Regions from separate parts of the Homo sapiens genome. Here regions 2 and 3 are each linked to region 1. Evidence: promoter capture Hi-C in 16 types of primary human blood cells and fetal thymus (Javierre and others, 2016). All regions are on one chromosome and are shown on one strand. Each heading gives the region's core, a stretch centred on a gene start or on the middle of the fragment in contact. The rest is flanking DNA. Distances are from core to core; before and after follow the strand shown. Region 1 holds the start of CASK (calcium/calmodulin dependent serine protein kinase). Region 2 overlaps MAOA (monoamine oxidase A). Region 3 has its middle 9.6 kb from the start of MAOA.

Evidence for each region. The method cuts DNA at HindIII sites, captures the fragments that hold promoters and counts their contacts. A CHiCAGO score of 5 or more calls a contact.
Region 2: a fragment that was not itself captured here is called in contact with the fragment with the promoter of CASK in region 1 in 1 of 17 cell types (monocytes); the score reaches 6.4 in monocytes.
Region 3: a fragment that was not itself captured here is called in contact with the fragment with the promoter of CASK in region 1 in 1 of 17 cell types (fetal thymus); the score reaches 5.0 in fetal thymus.

The regions. Positions count from the first base shown.
Region 1 is chrX:41,921,641-41,925,254 of GRCh38, forward strand. It overlaps CASK (calcium/calmodulin dependent serine protein kinase), which reads right to left and starts at 1,914. Exons shown (of 27, transcript NM_001367721.1): 1 at 1,290-1,914. The coding sequence starts at 1,348. RefSeq lists silencers at 1,369-1,418, 1,689-2,268. The HindIII fragment of the contact is 8,208 bases long and covers 1-3,614 here.
Region 2 is chrX:43,661,949-43,665,562 of GRCh38, forward strand. The region is part of intron 1 of MAOA (monoamine oxidase A); the gene reads left to right. Among named protein-coding and RNA genes, the nearest start is that of MAOA, 7.5 kb to the left of the region's middle. The HindIII fragment of the contact is 3,060 bases long and covers 197-3,256 here.
Region 3 is chrX:43,644,875-43,648,488 of GRCh38, forward strand. No RefSeq gene overlaps it. Among named protein-coding and RNA genes, the nearest start is that of MAOA, 9.6 kb to the right of the region's middle. The HindIII fragment of the contact is 9,080 bases long and covers 1-3,614 here.

The sequences.
Region 1 (3,614 bases), core at 664-3,163:
TCCTCACATCAATTGGGTCTGAGTAAAGTGTGTAGCAAGCTCTACCCACAATTTCACCATGTGAGGCAACACTGTAATACCTCAATATGGAAAGAAAAGGAAACAAATTAGCACTCAAATTGAAATTGAGTACTGCAGACAACTTAAAAGAGATAGGGCCAACTGCTTTAAGGTCTTGGTTTCATTTCCCAACTGTGGACCTTAAAATAGACAATAAAGCACCGCTTCCAAAAAAAAAAAAAAAAAAAAAAAGAGGTAAGATATTTCAATGTTAGCTCTAGCGATCCTTATTAAGCAAAAATTTGCTCTTAAATCTTATCTCCTCAACTTCTAAAGCCGCAGAATACACGCTGTGTTAGGAAATCAACTTCAGATTGCCAGCATTTCCTTCACAAGCAAATTAGCAGGATTGTGCACTTGGAGTACTGTTTGACAAGAATGAAAAGGAAACTATTCAAAATAGATTTAAGGAATGGACAATTAGATGAGGAACTGCAGATTTAATTCTCAATCAGCACTGTGATTAATCTGATTCCCTGCTTTTCCCCAGCGTAATTATACAACACAGATGAAAGGATGAGCATTTGGACTGTCAGTTCTATATTCTAGACCAGCCCGGTGACTCAAAGCAGACGGCTCTACCACGCTAACCACCATCCCAACAACAGTCGAGGGGAGTCTCGAGCACTGATTGAACAGTCATTGCATAACAAGGCATTAAAAATTCGAATGCCCCCAACTCTTTCCACGTTCGTGTACACCAGGAGGGAATTTGCTGAAACTGAAAGCACCCCGTCTTAAATGACCCCCTCCAATCCGAGCATGGGGTGTACACAAAGGCATCTGTCTAATATCCCGCACAATAGACACACACCCCACAATTAAAACCCTGGACTCTCTCACCACACAAGCAAAGGAAATGCAAGCTGCTCTGTTTCAAAAATGGTCTATGGTACATGCAAGGTAACAATAACCCCAACTGAAGCAACTATAAAATCGGCTGTGCCACGTCCCTGTGCAACCGTCAGATAAAATGCAGGCAGCCGGCCCCACGCCTTACGGGGTGGCCAACCTCGGCTCGGTGGCCTCAATGGACCGCTGAGAACCCCCAGGCCCCCGCCTGGCAGGAGCTCCAGGTACACGTCTATAAATACTCCAGGATGAGAAGGACGAGAGGGGAAGAGGGGAAGGAGGGAGGGCAGGGGGCAGGCCCCGAGCGGGTGCGGGAAGACCGGGGCATCACTGAAATGCATTTTTCCACACTCCCGCTCCCTCGCGTGGAGACTCACTTTCCGATCACCTCGCACAGCTCGTACACATCCTCGAACAGCACGTCGTCGTCGGCCATGGTCCGGAGGGGATAGCGGCCGCAGCGTGGAGGGCTTCGAAAACGGGGGTGGGGGCGCCCAAGAGCTCAGTGCCCAGCCCCGGGATCGCCTCCTCCCCTCAGGACCCGCGAGCCCTCGGTGCCGAGGACGCTCGAGTGGGGCCGCGAGGCCCAGAGACTGCGGCGCCTTCCTCTGCAGGCGACCGCCCCGGCGCGGGCGGCGGGGCCGGGGCGCGGGAGCGAGGGCGGCCCGGGCCCGGCGCCGCCCGCCCGCCCGCTGCTTCTCGCGCTGCTCGGGCCGCGCTGCCCGGCGTGCGGATCCTCGGGGACCGCGCGGCGTCGCGCTCTCCGCTCGTCAGCCCGCGCGGGCCGCGAGGCCGCGACCGCTCCCTCTGTCCGAGGCCGGCTCCGTCGCGTCGCGGAGCAGCTCGGGCTACAGAGGGGGCCGCGGCAGGACCATGGAGCGAGGATCGCCGCGGAGGGAGGTGGCGGCGGCGGCGGATCGGCGCTGGGGACCAGGAGGCGGCGGCAGAGACGCTCCCTCCTCTTTCTCCTCCTCCCGCAGCCGCCACCGCCCGCCCGGGAGTGGGAGGGGGCTTCGCGGGACCGGCGCTCTGTGCGGGCGGGAGCCGCGGCCGCCGCCTTCTGCTCCGCCCCTACGCCTCAGCAGCCGACCGGCTCGCCAGCCCCGCTCACCCGCCTCGCGCAGACACGCCCTCCTCCCCCGTCGGCGGCGCGGCTTCCAGAACCACAGGCTCCGCCCACTCCAACCGGTCGGGAGGCGGTGGCCCAGGGAAAGGGGAGCGGGCCGAGCGGCGCATGCGCGGGGCGCCGGCCGCGTCACGGCGAACGGGCGGGCACCGGGATTCTAGAGGGCGCGGGGGGTTGAGTGGGGCGCGCCGGCTGCAGCTGCCGAGGCGGGGCTGGTTGGGGTCGTCGCCTCCGCGCCTAGCCGCGACCAAGCCGCGAAAGGGGCTGGAGACAAAAGGTCCACGGCTGCACGCTCGTTGTCCGGCAAGAGGCACGAAACTCTGGCCGCTCCCCTTTCCTTCTTTTGTAATCGCAGGGAGCCTTTCCCAGTTTTTTGCTGGGAAAAGAGGCAGGGAAAGGGTGCTAATGAATGAGAAAGCTAAAAGAGAGGTGGAGAGAGGTTGTCACTGAATCCGTGCTTGGCAGCGGATGCTTTTAGTGCTACCCTGTCATTCCTTAATGAAGATGAGGGCTGGGGGTAAGGGGAGGTCGTCCAAGAAAAGGACTAAACAAAAACTGCCTAGGAAGGTGTGCGACAGCAAACGGTCATCTATAGAGACAGCTTCTCCCACGTTCTGCCCCAAACTCAACAAATATCTATCCAGCGCCTACCCTCACTAGAGACCAACCTAGAGAGAAGCTAGGAAGGCAGGGACAAACCGTGACTTTAAGCTCATTTGTATATTGTCCTCAAACTCCCAGGACCTACTCTGCTCTCTATACTCCCTATAAATGTTAGACTTGTCAGGAACAGAATGCAACTAGAGGGAGTGCAGGCACAGGAGCAGCCAGGGAGTGAGGTTCTGGGTGTTGCCGCTGTGCTAGGTTGCATTCAATATGAAGATTTCTGTTCAACTGAGCATGTGCGGAATGAGCCAGCGCCATCAGACAGGTATATGCCTCAGTTGAAGACCAATAGTGTCTTTGTTCCTCCGCACAGCAAAAGTGCCCAATTAGTTCATAAGTCAGTTTCCAGAAATCGTCTGGTAAATTTCTCAGTGCAGTATTTTTTTTAAAAAAAGTATTTATTAATACCAAAGTGGAGGGGGTGATGTGGAGACTCACAGCCTATTTTCTCTTCAGAAACGTTTCGTGCAAACCCTTGACCACTCCCTCAAAAGGCTGAGAGATTTGCCTGCTAAGGATTTGGGTACTAAACCTTTTTTTTTTTTTTAAATGCAGATCAGAGGACAAGTGTAATTGCACACGGTTTTCCTCCTTTCTCAAAGAGCTTGTGCATTCTCTAGAGACGGGGGCTTCAGAACTTGAGAAACATTGCCTCCTTTAAGGGTCCAAGAGTTACTCACCACAAGTTGGCATGTCCAGCTCATGTCTAATGAATAAGGCGTCACTCCATTCTGCCCTGAAGTGCACAGGGACCCTCTCAAGTCACCTTGTCAGCTTCACTTCTTTTCCCCAGCCCAAGACTGAGCTATACCAAGCCTTGTCGACTTCATTTTGGGGTTTGTTGTCTTCTACAGGGACCTATGCTCAGAGGTAGAAAAGGACAATCATAAAGTAAAACAGAAAAGAAAGT
Region 2 (3,614 bases), core at 477-2,976, 1.7 Mb after region 1:
TCTGAGAGACAGAAAAGCCATTTTGCAAGAGAAATAACTAATGTTCAGCATTCCGATGATTGAGTCCACAACATACCACAATTTCCCTTTTTGCTGAAATATATCACCTGTAAAAATTATTCTGCTAGGACCATTTTAGGCATTTTAACCCAGAACTTGGCAGCATGTACTGTGTGGTTTTGCAGTGATTAAGAAAAGCTTCCATTTAAGAAATGCCACTTATTTTTGGTGTCTTAGTTATTTAAATACTCTGAGGTTCAATGTGGGCTGAGCATTAATTTTTTGCTGTTTAGGACACTTCTCTGCCCCTAATTTATATTTTATTTTTCTAAAAAATAAACTAGGGTGTTTTTACTTCATAAACTTTTTAAATACTAAACAAAGAATACAAGAATTACATTTATTTGTGTTCTGATTTTTTTTTTTTGAAATCTTCATGGTTGAAGGAGCTTTTGGATTTATCTGGCATTAAATGGGAAATTTTAGCATTTAGTCAATACTAATTGATTTGAATTGTTACATAATCCTCAGCTATTGTGAAAAATGTATTTAACAATAGATCTAGGTATAGCATAATTGCATACATTACAGAGACCAATAATGGAGAAAAAGAAACATGGAACACCATTATTGGTGAATATTGGGTCACAATCTTTGTGCAGTTATGGCATAGAAATATTTTAACCTATGAAAAATCTTGCAGTATTTGCATTCAAGTGTACTCAGAAAGACTAAGGTTGTATTCTAGTTTTATATTACATATAGGGTGCCCAGCCCTGTGATTTAGAAAGTGTAGACACCCGATAAATAGTTGTTAAGGAATATACTTGTATGTAGGAGATGTATAGATTTCATAATGATAGGGTTTTTTTTTTCATTGTAATTAGAACTTCAAAAATTGAATCAAAACATTTTCTAAATGTTGTGAGCATTTGAGACAAATTGATTGTTGGGACTGTTTCTCCTCCTTTATCATGACAAATATTTTATATTTTTACCAGCAATTTGTATTTTCCTTCAAACAATCTATTTCTTGTTATGTTGCCATCTGTCATTGTGTATTAGGGAAATTTAAAGTCTTTGAACTATGGTTTTGTCATCCAAGAAGTTGGATTAAGTTATATGTGATATATCTTCTGGTATGGATTTTTAGTAATTAGTCAATTTCATGAAGATCCGTCTCTTTAGCTTTCTTTCTTGGACCCTCCTCAACGTTTTTTTCTTCTATGCTTTATTCTGGGAAGAGTTTGCATTATCTGTCATACTGACATTCTTCACAAACTTGAATCAGGGCCTGGGTCTCTCCACAGGTGCTCATTCACACTTTCCCCATGGCTTCTCTGAGACTTTGTTTAAAACCCTTTTCTAGTTGTTGCTAGGCAAAAGTAAACAAAGCACACTCAATAACAATATTTAATTGATTGACTAAGAGTGTTAAGAACATAAAAAACAGATGATAAGATTTAAGAGTTGAAGTAATTATATATTAACCATGTCCAAGGGTTATAGAATGGTGGCCTGTAAGAGCCCAAAGGGACTGAAACAGAGGCTCAGAGGGGTCCAGGGAATTACCAAATGCCACAAAATTCTTAGCTGTTTAACTTGTCCTTGGATGCGTAAAATACTGACTTCCAGGACAGTGCTCTTTCTGTACCTCACCTCACTGGACCTGCTTTGTCAGCTCATCCATAGATCTGCAGTAAACCTTATTATTGCTTTACTTTGAACGTTGATGCTCTAAAGCATAGTGACTACTGCTTAACAGTAATTTATATATTATAAGATATCACAAGGAATGTTATTGCTTTCTGAACATTTAAATTTAAAAATATGGGACACCCTATTAAATAAAATGACTTTCATATGACAAATCTATTTCCTTGTTGGAAAGGCCATTCCTGGTGCATTTAGGATATGTAGAGATTGTTGGGATAGTTTAGATCAGTGATTCTTGACCTTTTGGACCAAATGTCTCTTGGAAAATCTGATGAAAGCTATTGGACGTTTCACCAAAAAATGCGTATTTTTACGCATAGATGTTTTTCTCCTCTGCACCAGGCCAATGTTCTGGAAACCTCTTCTGCGTCACTGTCCTAATAGTGTAATTATTTTTAGCTGATACTGAGACTTCACGAAAGTGGTGAAAAATATTTCAGAGGATTCATTATATCATTAGACAGTTACTAGTAATGAATTTTTAAATAGACCATGATGAAGAGTCAAAACATTCAGGCTGGACACGAAGGCACCTACATTTGCTATATTAGCTCTATGATAACTAGAGAAGTGAAATTGACATGTTTTGAAAAGAAAGAATTTGGGAGAAAACATTGGTGAAGGAAATGGAAGGCTGTGGTGGTTGAGATTTCTTTTAGTAGTTTTCAAAGATTGTTTATTTAAAGTATCATTAGCCCATCGTCTATTCAGTGACTTGTGTGAGGCATAGAATCTGTGTAACCTCTGTGTCACAGGGGTTACAGAGATGAGCCTGAAATGCTCTTCAAAGTTGGTTCAGAGGTCCAATGTCAGCACAGAGGAGGGAGGAGTTAATTCCACCTGGAGGAAGTGACAAGGAAAGGATTTCATGGAGGAAGTCATACTCGACAGAAGTGTCATAGATTTTGGATAAATTCTGAAATGTAATGAAGATGACCTTTAAGGTGACCGTTTCCAGATTAAATGAGTTAGCTTGGAGCTGTGGCCTAAGTTGAAGACCATTTTCTTGCTTGTATGTATCTGTTCATTCATTCAGTAAATATTTGTCAATTGTGCATCACTGTATGCCTTGAGTAAAATTTGTGGGGTTTGCTCTCGCTTCTCTGCTTTGGGCATATTGCCTCAAAAATAAAATGCCTCTTCGAAAATCTGATGAAATCTGATTGCCTCAAAAATGAGGCAATATGAGTTGATATTTGACTATACTTTTTATTGCCCTTGGAGTGTTCAGTCCAAGAGTCCAAATGTGCAGTTATGTAAGAATTCTTTTGGCCAGAGACCACTTCACTGAATAATAGAGAATTAACAATGTATCATGCAGTGTACTCTGTGCAATTCCTAGGTGATGATGCATATCAAAGTTGAAGAAAGATGTCACTTTCGGGAATAAAGAGAAAGAACTAGGCAGGTATACACCATAGCTACACTAAAACCTTGCTCCAACATGCTCAGCTTGTGCTCTGGGCATTGTTCACCTAGGACCTTGCCTTTGGGAGTTTATTATGCTATTTGAACAATCAATCTTATGAGAGATTAAACAAGCTTTCCTAAAGTGTGTTTTCAGGTATACATTTTTTTAAAAAGCAGAGGGTGGATAAATGCTGAGTTAAATGGGTCTTTTTGCTGCAGGACTTCTCAGGACCATATGCCAGTGTGCACCAGGCATTTCCCAGAAGGAGAAACAGTATATGGTGTCTCAACTTCCATGAACATTGATACTTCTCCCCAGAGCATCTTTCTTGAGGACTCATGTTCCGTAAAACATTTAGGGAACTACAGCCCATCCTAGTGTGCAGAGTCCAAGGACAGCAATATGGAGTGTCCCTGGTGCATTTTAAGTTTCAATGAAAGATTGGGGCGAATAATGAATTAAGGGGTAATTGCATTCCCTAACTTGG
Region 3 (3,614 bases), core at 814-3,313, 1.7 Mb after region 1:
ATTTTCATTATTTGTCTATTTTCTTTTTTTTTTTTTTTTGAGTCAGAGCTCTGCTCTTGTTGCCCAGGCGGGAGTGCAATGGCGTGACCGCAGCTCACCGCAACCTCCGCCTCCTGGGTTCAAGCAATTCTCCTACCTCAACCTCCTGAGTAGCTGGGATTACAGGCGTGAGCCACCATGCCCAGCTTATTTTTTGTGTTTTTAGTAGAGATAGGGTTTCTCCATGTTGGTCAGGCTGGTCTTGAACTCCCAACCTCAGGTGATCCACCTGCTTTGGCCCCCCAAAGTGCTGAGATTACAAGCGTGAACCACCGTGCCCAGCCTTGTGTTTTTTAATAAATTATTTAAAAATAAGTTGAAGCACTCATGACATTTCACCTCAAAGAACTTCAGCCTGCATCTTCTAGGAATAAGAACATTCTTGGCCTGATGTGGTGGCTCACACATGTAATCCCAGCACTTTGGGAGGCTGAGGTGGGCGAATCATGAGGTCAGGAGTTTGAGACCAGCCCGGCCAACATGGTGAAATCCTGTCTCTACTAAAAATACAAAAAAATTAGCTGGGTATGGTGGCGGGCACCTGTAATCCCAGCTACATGGGAGGCTGAGGCAGAAGAGTCGCTTGAACCCGGGAGTCGGAGGTTGCAGTAAACCAAGATCGCACCACTGCACTCCAGCCTGGGCGACAGTGCGAGACTCCATCTCAAAAAAAAAAAAAAATTCTCCCCATAACTATAGTACTATTATCACATGTAGTAAAATTAACACTAATCAATAATATCATCTAATATGCAGTCCATATTTAAATTTCCTCCATTGTCACAATGGCTTTCTAATTTTCCAAACCAGAATCCAGCCAAGTTTTACAAATAGTCTTTGATCATGCCTCTTTATTCTCTTAATCTTGCACAGTCCCAATACTTTTTAGTTTTTTTCACATTAACTTTTATTGAAGGATCCAGGCCAGTTGTCTTGTAAAACAGCCTGTATCTGAATTTGTTGGATTGTTCTCTCATGATTGGATTCAAGTTAAGCATTTTTTGGTAAGAATACTGCATAAGTAAGGTTGTGAACTTTTTTTTTTTTTTTGAGACGGAGTTTCACTTTTGTTGCCCAGGCTGGAGTGCGATGGCGCGATCTCAGCTCACCGCAACCTCTGCCTCCCGGGTTCCAGTGATTCTCCTGCCTCAGCCTCCTGAGTAGCTGGGATTATAGGCATGCACCACTACACCCAGCTAATTTTGTATTTTTAGTAGAGACGGGGTTTCTCCATGTTGGTCAGGCTGGTCTTGAACTCCTGACCTCAGGTGATCTGCCCGCCTCGGCCTCCCAAAGTGCTGGGATTACAGGCATGAGCCACCACGCCTGGCCAGTTGTGAACTTATTACATGACATCAAAGGACATATTATATTAGATTATTGATGATTGATTATCTTAAGTTTGATCATTTGGCTTAGGTGGTAACTGCCAGATCTCTTACCTGTAAAGGATTGTTTTTCCCTTTATAATTAATAAAATAATCTGTAGGGTGATACTTGGAGACCTTGTGAATGAACAATTTCCTAATAATCTTTCACTCCTGGTTTTTAGCATCTGCTGAGATGCTTGAATTGATTACTACAAGAGTTCAAAGTGGTCGTTTTTAATAATGCCTTCTACATTTACTACCTGATATTTTTCTGTAAAGAAAAACTTTCCTTTTTAACATCTTTCTCCTTATGTTTTATTAACTTATTTATTTTGGTATAACACAATGGGCTGATGGATTTTCTATTAATGTTTTATTATTGTCATCATTTTTTGATGCTCAAATTGTTCCAACTTCAGGCAACATTACTTATAGCAAAAAAGTGCCTCTGACTGGTAAATAGCATCTGGACTGGTAGACTTCATAAATAAACTCTAAATGCTCAATGCAAATACCATAATTTTGGGCTTCCTTTAGTGTGGTAACTGTTATAATTGGCTATGTCCCATGTGAGGGATCCTAGAAACTATGCCTGTGTAATTATTACAAAAGTTATTGGCTCCTATGGGGCATAAGGCTGCTAAATCAGGCTAAGTTCCACTGTTGTCTGAAGTGAAACTTGTTCCCTTGTACGTAAACTACCACTTGGGAAACTAATGAGAATAGCCGCAGGATAGCTAGTCTGACTGCTCTTTGATCTGCTGTAAGAACACCCATGGAAGGTAAACGCTCCATGCTGTCCTGCTGGCAAGCTGTGGTTTGTTGTATCCCTTTGAGTGTACTGATGCCAAATACAGTCCATGGTAGTTTTGTGAGTCTGAAGGTTTAGTTGGACCCATGAAGAATCCCTAATGGGAGTTGCACTATTTAAAAAAGAATACTCAGAGAAACTTCACTTCCATTCCTACTCCTTCCATCCCATTTTCATTCATTTCTCCATATATGATTTATCCTTCCTATATATTTTTGAAAATATAAGTAATATATCCTTACACAAAGATACAAATAGACATACATACATATAGACATATTCAAAGGTATGCTATATATATATTCTCTCATACCTTCATTTTACTACTTTTTTTTTTTTTTGAGATGGCGTTTCACTCTTGTTGCCCAGGCTGGAGTGCAATGGTGCGATCTCAGCTCACTGCAACCTCCGCCTCCTGGGTTCAAGCGATTCTCCTGCCTCAGCCTCCCTAGTAGCTGGGATTACAGGCATTCACCACCATGTCCGGCTAATTTTGTATTTTTAGTAGAAACAGGGTTTCTCCATGTTGGTCAGGCTGCTCTTGAACTCTCGACCTCAGGTGATCCACCCTCCTCTGCCTCCCAAAGTGCTGGGATTACAGGTGTGAGCCACCGCACCCGGCCTTCATTTTACTACTTGAAAATATATCCAGAAAATCACTCCATATTCCATACCAGTTCACAGAGATCTTCTTTCTTTTCTTTTTTGTAATGACTGAATAGTGTTTCATTGTGTAGACTTATCAGTGTTTATGCAAATGGTCCTCTATAGATGGGCATGTAAATTGTTTTGAATATTTTGCTATTCAAAATAATTCCACAATAGATAACCTTGGGCATATTTTTTCACTGTTTGTGGAAGTGTATTATTAAGGTAAATTCCTAGGAGGATTGCTGGGTCAAGGGGTAAATGCATAGGTATTTTGTTAGATATTACCAAATTCCTCACTATCAGAGGTTGTACCATTTGTACTTGAGCCAGCAATGTATGAGAATGCCATATGTGTCTATAGACCAAGAATAGCATTTTTGGCCCAGGGCAGTGGTTCACACTGTGAAATAGTGAGGAAATCATAAGGAGAAAATGCATTGAGATATACATGGCATAAATGAAAAGTGAGTTGGCTGAAATAAGAACTTAAAGTAAAAAACAAAACAAAACCTAAAATGAAATGACAGTTAAAATCTGCATTAGAAGCAGTACAAATAGAATTAGAACTTCAGAAAATTAAATCAGTAATGTGAAGGATAAATTTGATTAGCTCTCAAAATTCAGAGGAAAAGGACAAAGATGACAACAATGATAAAGGACATAGAAAGGTGATCCAACAAGATAACTATAGGTGTTTCTGAGGAAGAAACCAAATATTTAAAACAGATAAAATAATCCAAGTT